4 separate regions of the Homo sapiens genome follow, and regions 2, 3 and 4 are each linked to region 1. Evidence: promoter capture Hi-C in human tissues and cell types (Jung and others, 2019). All regions are on one chromosome and are shown on one strand. The core of a region is centred on a gene start or on the middle of the fragment in contact, and the rest is flanking DNA. Distances in the headings are between cores, read along the strand shown. Region 1 holds the start of JMJD6 (jumonji domain containing 6, arginine demethylase and lysine hydroxylase). Region 2 overlaps LOC105371896 (a long non-coding RNA gene). Region 3 has its middle 42 kb from the start of SNHG20. Region 4 overlaps UBE2O (ubiquitin conjugating enzyme E2 O).

What was found. Contacts are between HindIII fragments. The study calls those that stand out against the background at their distance.
Region 2: a fragment that was not itself captured here is called in contact with the fragment with the promoter of JMJD6 in region 1 in 1 of the 25 tissues and cell types used here (psoas muscle).
Region 3: a contact is called between a fragment that was not itself captured here and the fragment with the promoter of JMJD6 in region 1, in 2 of the 25 tissues and cell types used here (IMR-90 fibroblasts and hippocampus).
Region 4: a fragment that was not itself captured here is called in contact with the fragment with the promoter of JMJD6 in region 1 in 1 of the 25 tissues and cell types used here (mesendoderm cells).

Annotation. Positions count from the first base shown.
Region 1 is chr17:76,725,238-76,727,927 of GRCh38, forward strand. JMJD6 (jumonji domain containing 6, arginine demethylase and lysine hydroxylase) reads right to left here and starts at 1,369. Exons shown (of 6, transcript NM_015167.3): 1 at 1,110-1,369; 2 at 230-618. The coding sequence starts at 1,238. It overlaps METTL23 (methyltransferase 23, arginine), which reads left to right and starts at 1,602. Exons shown (of 5, transcript NM_001080510.5): 1 at 1,602-1,941. RefSeq lists enhancers at 1,242-1,871, 2,502-2,690 and silencers at 1,293-1,422, 1,533-1,982. The HindIII fragment of the contact is 13,681 bases long and covers 1-2,690 here.
Region 2 is chr17:76,250,240-76,252,929 of GRCh38, forward strand. The region is part of intron 5 of LOC105371896 (a long non-coding RNA gene); the gene reads right to left. Among named protein-coding and RNA genes, the nearest start is that of RNF157, 11 kb to the left of the region's middle. RefSeq lists an enhancer at 1,871-1,940. The HindIII fragment of the contact is 5,873 bases long and covers 1-2,690 here.
Region 3 is chr17:77,045,698-77,048,387 of GRCh38, forward strand. No RefSeq gene overlaps it. Among named protein-coding and RNA genes, the nearest start is that of SNHG20, 42 kb to the right of the region's middle. The HindIII fragment of the contact is 4,903 bases long and covers 1-2,690 here.
Region 4 is chr17:76,434,638-76,437,327 of GRCh38, forward strand. All of the region lies in intron 1 of UBE2O (ubiquitin conjugating enzyme E2 O), which reads right to left. Among named protein-coding and RNA genes, the nearest start is that of UBE2O, 17 kb to the right of the region's middle. RefSeq lists an enhancer at 2,090-2,591. The HindIII fragment of the contact is 4,739 bases long and covers 1-2,690 here.

The sequences.
Region 1 (2,690 bases), core at 119-2,618:
GTCTCTACTAAAAATACAAAATTAGCTGGGTGTGGTGGCGCATGCCTGTAATCCCAGTTACAGGAGGCTGAGGCAGGAGAAGCGCTTGAACTCGGGAGATGGAGGTTGCTGTGAGCCGAGATCGCACCACGGCACTGCAGCCTGGGCTACAAGAGTGACGCTCTGTCTCAAAAAAAAAAAAAAAAAAAAAAGAAAAGGATTTTAACCACTTAGCTGCAGAATACTTTACCTGTAAGGGGGCCTGCGCTTCTCCCCAGCATACTGGAAAAGGTCATCAGTGAAAAACTTTGGCACCTTGTAGTCTTCCAAAAGTTTCCTTCTTTTAGGGTGTTCACCATAGCTGCTGTCAAAGATGTAAAGGGGACTATCATCTCGAGTGCTCTCCATGTACTCGATGTAGTATTTCATCTTCATCTTCACTGAGTAGCCATCGTTATCCTCACCACACTTGAACTTCTGGTTCCGATATTTCCTTTTTAGGCGCTCCAGAGTCCATTTCTCCTGCGCAGACCAGCCCTCTTGCGCATTCAACAAAACCACGGGCTTGTAAGGTCTTTCATACCGCTCCACAAATTCTTCCACAGACAGCTGTAAAGCATCTGCCCTTTCCACGTTATCCTGAGGGAATTAAAAAAGACCTGTCCAGTTAAAAAAAAAAAAAAAGTCCAGTGGCAGATAAGGGTGTCCCCAAGGCCAACTGGTAATGACAAACCGAAGGAAGTTGACTCTCGTCTGGCTCCTCCGGGGTGGGGGCAGGGCGCGTGCGTGAGGCCACGTCGTTCCTAGAGCCACCCCCCATGAGCCTTGACAGCCAGGTCCCCTAGGGGACCCGCCGCCCAAAGGAGTCAGGGACGACGGGCCTTCTAGTTGAGAGCGCCACAGGCGTGGGACTCCCGTCGTCCGCCAGAGCAGACGGGCGGCCACAGCACGGGAGGAAGCAGACCCGCCCCGGAATCCGCGCCTCGGGGACCCCAAACTCCGCGGGGTGCGGGTGAGCCTCTACGAGGTCCCGGGCGCTCGGGGCGAGGGCAGCCTCGGGCCCAGAGAAAGGTGCGTAGCGGCTGGAGGTGCCGATGCCCGGCCTGGCCACCCCCGCCCGACCCGCTCACCGCCACGGCCGCCGGGCTCAGCGAGAAGCTCTCGTAGTAGTTGTGCCGGGTCCAATCCAGCGAGTCCTTGAGCTCCGGCCGCGCACTCCGCTTGGCCTCGCGGATGCGCTTCTTGCTCTTGTGGTTCATTCTGCGGGGTCGCCAGCTGGTTCCGCTACGACCTCGGCGCAGCCCGCTTCCTGACACTAACGCACCCCTCCCCGGCCTGGGCGGCGGCGACGGCAGTACCCAAACGCCCTTCGCTCAGTCCCGGCGCCTTTAAAGTCGCCTTCCAGAAAATTCACTCCCCAGCCACCTCCCGAGCCTCGGGTTGGGCAAGCGGCCGCCGTCTTCCCCGCCCCGACGCCTCTCGCGGTTTTCCATTGGCTTTGGCTCCCCTGGGGTACTCCTTCACATACGGCGGGCCTCCGCCATGTTGGGAAGGTCACGTCGGCTGCGTCACCGCCCCGCCCCGCCCCGCCCCTCCCCTCCCGCGCTGCCGCTGTGCCCATCACTTCCGGTCGCGCCAGCCGCCCGTTGCCAGTTCTGCGCGTGTGAGTCTCTTTCGCCTTGCTCCGGGCTTTCTTCGCTCGCAGCGCGGCAGGGTTATCACCAGATCTGGGCTTTCCCCTTCTTGCCGTCAGGTGCTACGGCCACGTGGCCCGCGGCTTCCCGCTCGCGCAGTCTGGCAGCCCGGAGCCTTCCGCGGTCCCCCGCCCGCCCGGGGCCCAACGACGCCCTACTGGGCGAGCACGATTTCCGAGGACAGGGGGTCCGGGCCCAGCGCTTTCGATTCTCGGAGGAGCCGGGTCCGGGGGCCGACGGGGCTGTCCTGGAGGTCCACGTCCCGCAGGTGCGTGCAGCAGCACCCGCCAGGAGGCGCCTGAGGTCAGGAGCGGATGTCGGCTGACTTGGCTGGGTTCCTGAGGGACCGGGGGTGCGGACGCTCAGCTGCGCAGCTTCCTGCTTTAGGTTGACCCCCGGAGCAAAAACGTCGGATATGAAGCCCTTCGGTGCATTAAATGTCTCTCAGTAAGAATTTTGGAGACCCTGCCAAGAAGTGACCCTGGTCACTATGTTGGTCAGGCTGGTCTCGAACTGTAAGCTTAAGTGATCCTCCTGCCTCGGCCTCCCAAAGTGCTAGGATTACAGGCATGAGCCACTGCGCCGGGCCGGCTTTCTCCACATCGAATCTTTCCTGCCAGGAAAGTGACATTCTTGACTGACCTCTAATGCTTCTTTTGATCTTGTCCAAGGGTTTCTTGATTCATCCTTATCTCTCACTTTTGTGTGAGTTTTGGGATCAGGGTTTCCAGTTTTATTTGGTGCCCAAAGTGTTTCTTGGGTTGGACCTCGCTTCTTCCTCTAAGCTCACAGCTACAACAAAACTCTCAATAATAATTCTTTTTCTTTTCTTTTTTTTGAGACACTGTCTCGCTCTGGCGCCCAGGCTGGAGCGCAGTGGCGCGATCACAGCTCACTGCAACCTCCAACTCCCGGATTCAAGTGATCCTCCCGCCTGCCTAAGTGCTGGGATTGCAGGAGTGAGCCACCATGCCCTGCCTGTCTTCGGTTTTTCAAAGCACTTTCACTTTGCAGTAT
Region 2 (2,690 bases), core at 60-2,559, 480 kb before region 1:
AAGTCAGGATATGTATTTGAGAGTCTGCCCAAGATGAAACCGAGGTCCACGCACTTCCCATACCAGGTGAAGGCAGAGCCCAGGGGTTTCGATTTCCTGAGACATCACTTTTCTGTGTTCATTGAAACTCAAAATGCCAGAAACATGTCTCCCTTATCACGTGTGGTGGCTGCTAAAGGGCCAGAGAAAAAGATAGCCCAGCCCTGCTCCTTCTTAACAAAGTACTGCCAACAAGTCACTGCACTAGAAGAAAGCAAGGCCCCTAATCGGCCCTCTTGCCCCTGCTGTCTGGATTAGCCATCTGTGGACGTGTGTGGTGTGTGTATTTGCGGATGTGTGTATTTGTGGGTCAGAGTTTGTCTGCCATTGTTTTGGGGGGTTTGCTTTTTGTTTTGAGATACGGTCACCAGGCTGGAATACAGTGGCATGAACGTGGCCCACAGCAGCCTCGACCTCCTGTGCTCAGGCGATCCTCCCACCTCAGCCTCCTGAGGAGCTGGGACTAAAGTGCGCCACCACACCCGGCTATTTTTTTTAAGAGATAGGGTCTCACTATGTTGCCCAGGTTGGTCTCGAACTCCTGGGCTCAGGTGATCCTCCCGCCTCAGCCTCCCAAAGTGCTGGAATTATAGGCGTGAGCCACCGTGCACGGCCTTCTGCCATTGTTAACTTCTCACTTAAGTGCCATTTGCTAACTAGAAAGAATGTTCAAGTTCACTGAGTTGGGGCCAGCTCTCCAGGGCTCATAGTTCAGGAATTTTGCCAGCCAGTTGTTAAATTGTTGGTAGCGTAATGGGAGTATTTACAACACAGAAACCATCAAATGCTGCAAATCACAGCTTCCTCCCATTCTCCAGAGCCAGTTTACCAGCATACCCCTGGTCTTAGGTTTCTTCTAATCCCCCAGAAGGGCTGGGTACATTGCTTCCCATATAGAAAGTGCTCACTAAATGAATGACTATTTAGTTGTTGTTGTTGTTGTTGTTTTGAGACGGAGTCTCCCTCTGTAGCCCAGGCTGATGTGCAATGGCGCAATCTTGACTCACTGCAACCTCTGCCTCCCAGGTTCAAGTGATTCTCCTGCCTCAGCCTCCCGAATAGCTGGGATTACAGGTGAATGCCACCATGCCCAGCTAATTTTTGTATTTTTAGTAGAGATAGGGTTTCACCATGCTGGTAAGGCTGGTCTTGAACTCCTGACCTCAGGTGATCCACCTGCCTTGGCCTCCCAAAGTGCTGGGATTATAGGCGTGAACCACCGAGCCCAGCCAAGAATAGTCATTTTTGAGCAATGACTCTGTCCAAGCACTTTGGAATGCGTTGTCACCCGAGCTGGAGTGCAGTGGTGTGATCACAGTTCACTGCAGTCTCAACCTCCTGGGCTCAAGCGATCCTCCCACCTGAGCCTCATTTAATCTTCAAAACAACCCTAAGAGATAAGTATTATTGTTCCCACTTCCCAGATGAGGAAACTGGAACTCAAGTAGGCACAGGGAGCAGGAACTGGCCCCAGGTTCTTCCAGGTTCAAAGTCCTACATTTTACCCATGGATCATCATCTCACCAGCCTCTGTGGGGAAAGCCTGCCTGGGTGCCAGCCCTACTGCCCACCAAGCTAGCGGAGTGATTCTCCCAGGGTGGTGCCAGTGACAAAGGGCAATGCATGGGGACGTCTCCATCATTGTCACACCACCACCTCCACCTTCACTGTGCCTCTCTCTAGGTTTAATCTTTCTTCCTTTTCCTCCTCACTTCCCTCTGTATTATCAATCTCCTTCCTGTATCGGGACTATTTCCTCAACAGGCCCGGGGAAGCTCTTGTCTATGGAAGTCCTCTTTGGCCTTAAGCTTCCCTCTAAGAGCTCCAGCAGATGAGTAACCTGTCCTCCTGCAAACACTGCCATGAAGTGCGTAGGCAGCTGCCTGCCTTCAGGGCTGGATGGACACCCTGTTTCCTTGCTCAATCCCTTCTGATGACTGGACTCTGTACACAGTGTGGTCAGTGGGTCAGCTCTGATCTGGAAGCTCCCAAAGGCAGGACACAAGATTTTCTCTGACTGTTCCCAGGCCCCAGGGCGTGTTGGGCACGGGAGCGTGTGGCACGGATGTTGTTCGTGATGAGGCATATTCTAGTGGTTTCCCAATTCGGTTGTGTACAACCCAGTGCTCTAGTGTTCAGTAAATACTTCCTTCCTCTTTAGGCAGAACACTGGCTCTGTGTTTTATTAACAGCACCTCATGCCTGGCCCAAAGAATGATTTGTGTGGCTTGGGCTGTTGGGGTCAGAAATGGCATTCATTCATCATTCACTCTGGAGGTGCTGTGTTTCTGAAGGAGAAGGGGACCTATCCTGGCAAACAAATCAGGGGCTTTATGGTAAACAAACTCCTCTCTTCCCAGCACTTGTTTCTTGCTCTCTGTTTTTGATTTTCTCTCTCTTTCACTTTTTTTTTTTTTTCACTATACCCGGGCTTCCTGAGTTCCTGACAATTTCTAAAGCCTCAAGCATGATCTCATCAGAAACTCTGGCTTCTTTTAACATTTCTTTCCCTTCTGCTGAGTCCTAGTCCATTTAAATTTCCTCTGTGACTCTGGGAATTTTTTTTCCTTGAGACACAGTCTCGCTCTTGTTGCCCAGGCTGGAAGTGCAATGGGCTGATCTCAGCTCACTGCAATCTCTGCCTCCCAAGT
Region 3 (2,690 bases), core at 139-2,638, 320 kb after region 1:
TGTTGCCGACTCTGGGCACACTGCCTATGAGTCACCCCTGCTCTGCAAAGAGCAGTACCGTTCCAGAAAAGATTGCTGTTTAGCACCACCGGCCTGCCCTTGAATTATCTCCTGGGCAAAGACAAGAACCCTCCTGGGCTAAGCCTCAACGTTGGGGTTCGCCTGTCCTACATCACAATGAGGATGGAATCCCACAGAGCAGGCCTGGACCTGCTTGCAGCATGAAGCCTACTCCAGCTGGGCCTAGAAAAGATCAGCCAAACCCTCATTGACCCACAGGCAAATGAGTAAGAAATAAATGCTCACTTTTGCATGCCATTGAGTTTTGGAATTATTTGTTAAGCAATAATAGTTGACTAATTCAAGGGAGCAGGCTTCCCTTTCTTCCCACATTCTCCCTAGCTGTCCTTTTGAATATTAAATCGGCAGCAATTAACACTACTGATCCTCCCACAAGAAGAAAATAAACTTGGAGTAGATTTGCCAGGAATGGGGGGTCCCTTACATGGAGCCACATTCATTATCTTGCCCAGGCTCCCCAGCAAACAGCCTTACCTTATTAATTATCAATATGGTTATACATAGAGCAAAGCTAGTTCAGCTGTTCGAGCCAATTGGCCAAATCCAGGCCCAATGCTGGAGGCTTGGCCTCCTTAATATGTGTAACCAGGCTGGGCATGGTGGCTCACACCTGTAATCCCAGCACTTTGGGAGGCTGAGGCATGAGGATCACTTGAGCCCAGGAGTTTGAGACCAGCCTGGGCAACATGGTTAGACTCTATTTCTAAAAAAAAAAAAAAAGAAAAGAAAAAAAATGTTTTAAATAGCTGGGAGTGGTGGCACCTGCATGGCCACAGCTACTCAGGAGGCTGAGGTGGGAGGATTGCTGGAACCCGGGAGTTCGAGATCAGCCTGGACAACATAGTGAGACTCCGTCTCTACAAAAAAAAAAAAAAAAAAAAATTAGCATGGTATGGTGGTGCACACCTGTGCTCCCAGCTACTTGAGAGGCTAGGGTGGTAGGATAGCTTGAGCCCAGGATGTCAAGGCTGCAGTGAGCTGTGGTAGTACCACTGCACTCCAGCCTCGGCGACAGAGTGAGACCTTATCTCAAATAAAATAAAGTTCGAACTAGCTGGTAACAGAGATCATCCTGGCACACTCAGAATGCTGTGCAGTCACCCATCCTTAGGAATCCATCCATCCCAAGGCGCCGTCCAGCTGCAGAGGTGCTAGATCAAAAGTAAGTGCTTCTAAAAGGTCTCGGAGAGTGGAGGGCAAGGGCTGAGTTCTCAGAAACATTCTTGCCTTGTCTGACATCAGGCAGCTTCTCCTCACCCCCTCCCTGGCCACACTCCTTCCTCACCTGTCTCCTCGCCCCATCCCAGCCCTTCTCTGCAATGCCTCTTCCCTCAGCTTACCCCCTGTCATGGTCCTAATCAATTCCCCAGCCAAAAAAAAATGTGTTCGTCCAGAGAGTTGAATCCTCAAATCACCCAGATAATCAATATTCGACTACTGTGCTACAGAGCAGGAGATCGATTTGCTGCCAGCCATTGCCAGGCAACTGGAAACTTTCATGCCATCCCCCTCCGACGAAGGCACCGTGGATAGTGGGGCAGCACTGCGGGGCTGGGTTTTAGGGATCAGTGGTGTGCAAATGCAGTGGACCGTAGGGAGAAGAGAGGGTCTTGCTGCTTTCTTTTTTAAAAAAATAAAACAGGATCTCACTCTGTCACCCAGCCTGGAGTGCAGTGGCATGATCATAGCTCTCTGCAGCCTCAATTTCCTGGGCTCAAGTGATTCTCCCACCTCAGCCTCCCAAGTAGCTGGGACTTGACAGGCATGGGCCACTGTGACTGGCTAATTTTTTTTTTTGCAGAGACTGGGTCTCACCGTGTTGCCCGGGCTGGTCTCGAATTCCTGGGCTCAAGTGATCATCCGCCTTGGCCTCTCAAAAGGCTGGGATTATAGGCGTGAGCTGCCATGCCCGGCCTTCCTGCTGCTTTCAAGACTTCAGTGATGTTCCATCCAACATTCTGGCTTGAGGAAAATCACTTGTTTAAAAATCCTTTTTACTATAGAAAATTTCAAATATTTGCTCAGAGGGATACTATAATGAAAATCCATGTACTCATTACCTAGCTTTAACAATTATCAACCATGGGTGAATTTGGTTTTATTCTACCAGTCCCTCTCTGCCATCGGATTATAGTTGAGCAAATCTTCAACATCATTCATAGATATTTCAGTATGTATCTCTGAAAGAGAAGAAATCTCTTTTTTCATAAATATTTCAGCATTTATTTGCAAACCTACGATGCCATTCGGTACCTGGTTTAATATAAAAATTTAGTTGTGTTTTTTATTTTTATATTTTTGAGACAGGGTCTCACTCTGTCACCCAGGCTGAAGTGCAGTGGCACCATCCTAGCTCACTGCAGCCTTGACCTCCTGGGCCCAAGTCATCCTCCTGCCACAGCCTCCCCAGTAGCTTGGACTACAGGTGTGCACCACCATGCCTGGTTAATTTTTTAAAAGTTTTTTGTAGAGATGAGGTCTCACTATGTTGCCCAGGCTGTAAAAAGGCTAGTTTTTTTTTTTAAAAAAAAATCTTATTCTCTTATTTTAATTGCAAAAGTAATACACACTCATACTAAATAAAACAATACAGAAATATATAAGAAGGA
Region 4 (2,690 bases), core at 89-2,588, 290 kb before region 1:
GTCTTGCCTTGGCTTCTGCAAGGAGCTCAGAGTGGTCCCACACTGCTAACACAAACTAAGCAATTCCGACATGGCAAAGGTCAGGAGTGAAGTCGAAAGGCACCTGCGATGTTCTGGAAATGCTTTTTCACTTAAGCTTTTTTTTTTTTTTTTTTTTAAAAAAACAAACAAAAAAACAACTTTGTCTCTGCCCTCACAAAGGTCTTCTGGGTCAAATACCTCTGTTATAGTCCTTCCACCTCCATCGGTGGTACCTCTGGCTACTGAGAAAACCCTGCCCCAATAGAGGGGCTCGGGCGCGCCCATCCAGGGATCATGGATTCCTACACTATCCCCAAAATGGCAGAGCTGGGCTCTCCCTGCAGTGGCACACTAGGCTGGATTTAGCCCAACAGCCTGGCACAAAGGACAACAATGAGGAGAGGAAAGGGGAGGTGACGCACCTGGCAAGGCACTAAGGGATGAGATGCACCAAGCCAGCTGTGAGTCACCACGAAGCAAACGGGAAGGTCAGGATCCAGATCCAGGTTTGTCTGAATCCAAAGCTCTGACCTGCCAAATACAGAGCAGTTGTACAGAAAGCTACTATTTATGTAAAAAGCTAAAATATAAAAAAGGTATACTCACACACATAGAGTTTGGTCACAGTGGCTATCCCTGGAGAGTGAAAATGGTAGGAGGGAGACAAACATTTCACTACATATTTGTTTAAACCTTTTGAATGTTGTGATATTTGCATATATTATCTGTTTAAATATACAGATACACACACACACACATACACACACACACACACACACACACACACACACACACACAAAGATTAAGATTTAGTTTTCAGGTTGGCCTTACGAGGCAGACAAGCTAATTCGCAATATTCCCCCCGTTTACTGCATGGGCTTGGAAACACAGGGAAACAGACGCAGAGCTAAATTATCCCCCAGCAGCAGTGACCACTGGTCAGGTGCTGTGCTGAGCCCTCTCGAAGGTGATCTCGTGCAATCCCCAGTAACTACAAGATTCTGTCTTTTCTAGTCATGGACACTAAGCAATCACAGGTCTACATGCCCTCTCTAAGCCCTGTGTCTGAGGCCTTCTCTGGCTCACCTAACGCCTCTCAGTCCAGCCCTATGCTCGGGAGCCACATTCCCTGAGCTGAAGGCACGACAGACCAGCCTGTCCCGCAAAGCTCAGTGACACCCCGGCACAGAGGGGACAGAAAACAGTTAGCAAAAGGCCCAGTCAGCTGGCCAGAGTTCTAGCCCTCTAGATGCTGCTGACTAGCTGGGGATCCTGCAGATGTCACATCAAATTCTCATCATCGTTAGGCCCCGTGCGGTGGCTCACGCCTGTAATCCTAGCACTTTGGGAGGCTGAGACGGGCGGATCACCTGAGCTCAGGAGTATGAGACTAGCCTGGGCAACATGGCGAAAGCCTGTCTCTACTAAAATACAAAACATTAGCCAGGCATGGTGGTGTGCACCTGTAATCCCAGCTACTCAGGAGGCTGAGGCAGGAGAATTGCTTGAACCCGGGAGGCGGAGGTTACAGTGAGCCGAGATAGCACCATTGCACTCCAGCCTGGGCAACAAGAGCAAACTCCATCTCAAAAATTAATTAATTTATTAATTAATTAACAAATAAAAGACTAGAACAGCCATCCACTGAAATAATAAAGAGAAGTTATCCCCGAGTGGTAGAATTATGGGTGACTTTTTTTTTACCCACCTTTCCTATGTCCTTGCACTTTTGTATTAAGTATATAAATAACTTAATAGACCAATCAGGAATAAAGCTATAAATCTAAGGCAAATAAGAGGATGACTCCAGCAATTTTTCTTCGGTGCTGGATTGTCAGAGACTGAAGAACAGACTATTACACCTGGGACTTTCCCTCCTTGCTGGACCCTGAATCCCCGAGAGCCTAGACGATGCCTCCAGGCCCCTGCCCTGCACGCTGTCCCTCGCCTGCTGCTGCTCTGGTGTCCAGCCACCACCTCTCTACTCAAAAGTGCTATCCAAGGTTCCTCACAACTCCCAAACTGCCTCTCTTTACAAAGCATCCTACTTGACCCCTTGCCCTGACATCAAAAGCCACTGGCTAGCACCCTCCTTCTGAACAAAATTCAAAAAAGGTAACGCCTCTTAGGACAGAGTATAAAATGGGGATTAGTGAAAGATCAACGAGGAGCATTTATTTCAACATTTAAAAGGCAATTATGCTAGGCTGGGTGCAGTGGCTCATGCCTTTGAGAGGTCAAGGTGGGCAGATCACTTGAGGTCAGCAGTTCCAGACCAGCCTGGCCAACATGTTGAAACCATTTCTACTAAAAATGCAAAACAAACAACAACAACAAAACAATTAGCTGGCATGGTGGTGGGCACCCATAATCCTAGCTGCTCAGGAGGCTGAGGCAGGAGAATCGCCTGAACCTAGGAGGTAGAGGTTGCAGTGAGCTGAGATCCCACCACTGTACTCCAGCCTGGGCAACAAAGTGAGACTCCATCTTTAAAAAAAAAAAAAAAAGGTGGCAGGGCACAGTGGCTCACTCCGGTAATCCCAGCACTTTGGGAGGCCAAGGCAGGCGGATCACGAGGTCAGGAGATCGAGACCATCCTGGCTAACACGGTGAAACCCCGTCTCTACTAAAAATACACAAAATTAGCCGGGCGTGGTGGCGGGCACCTG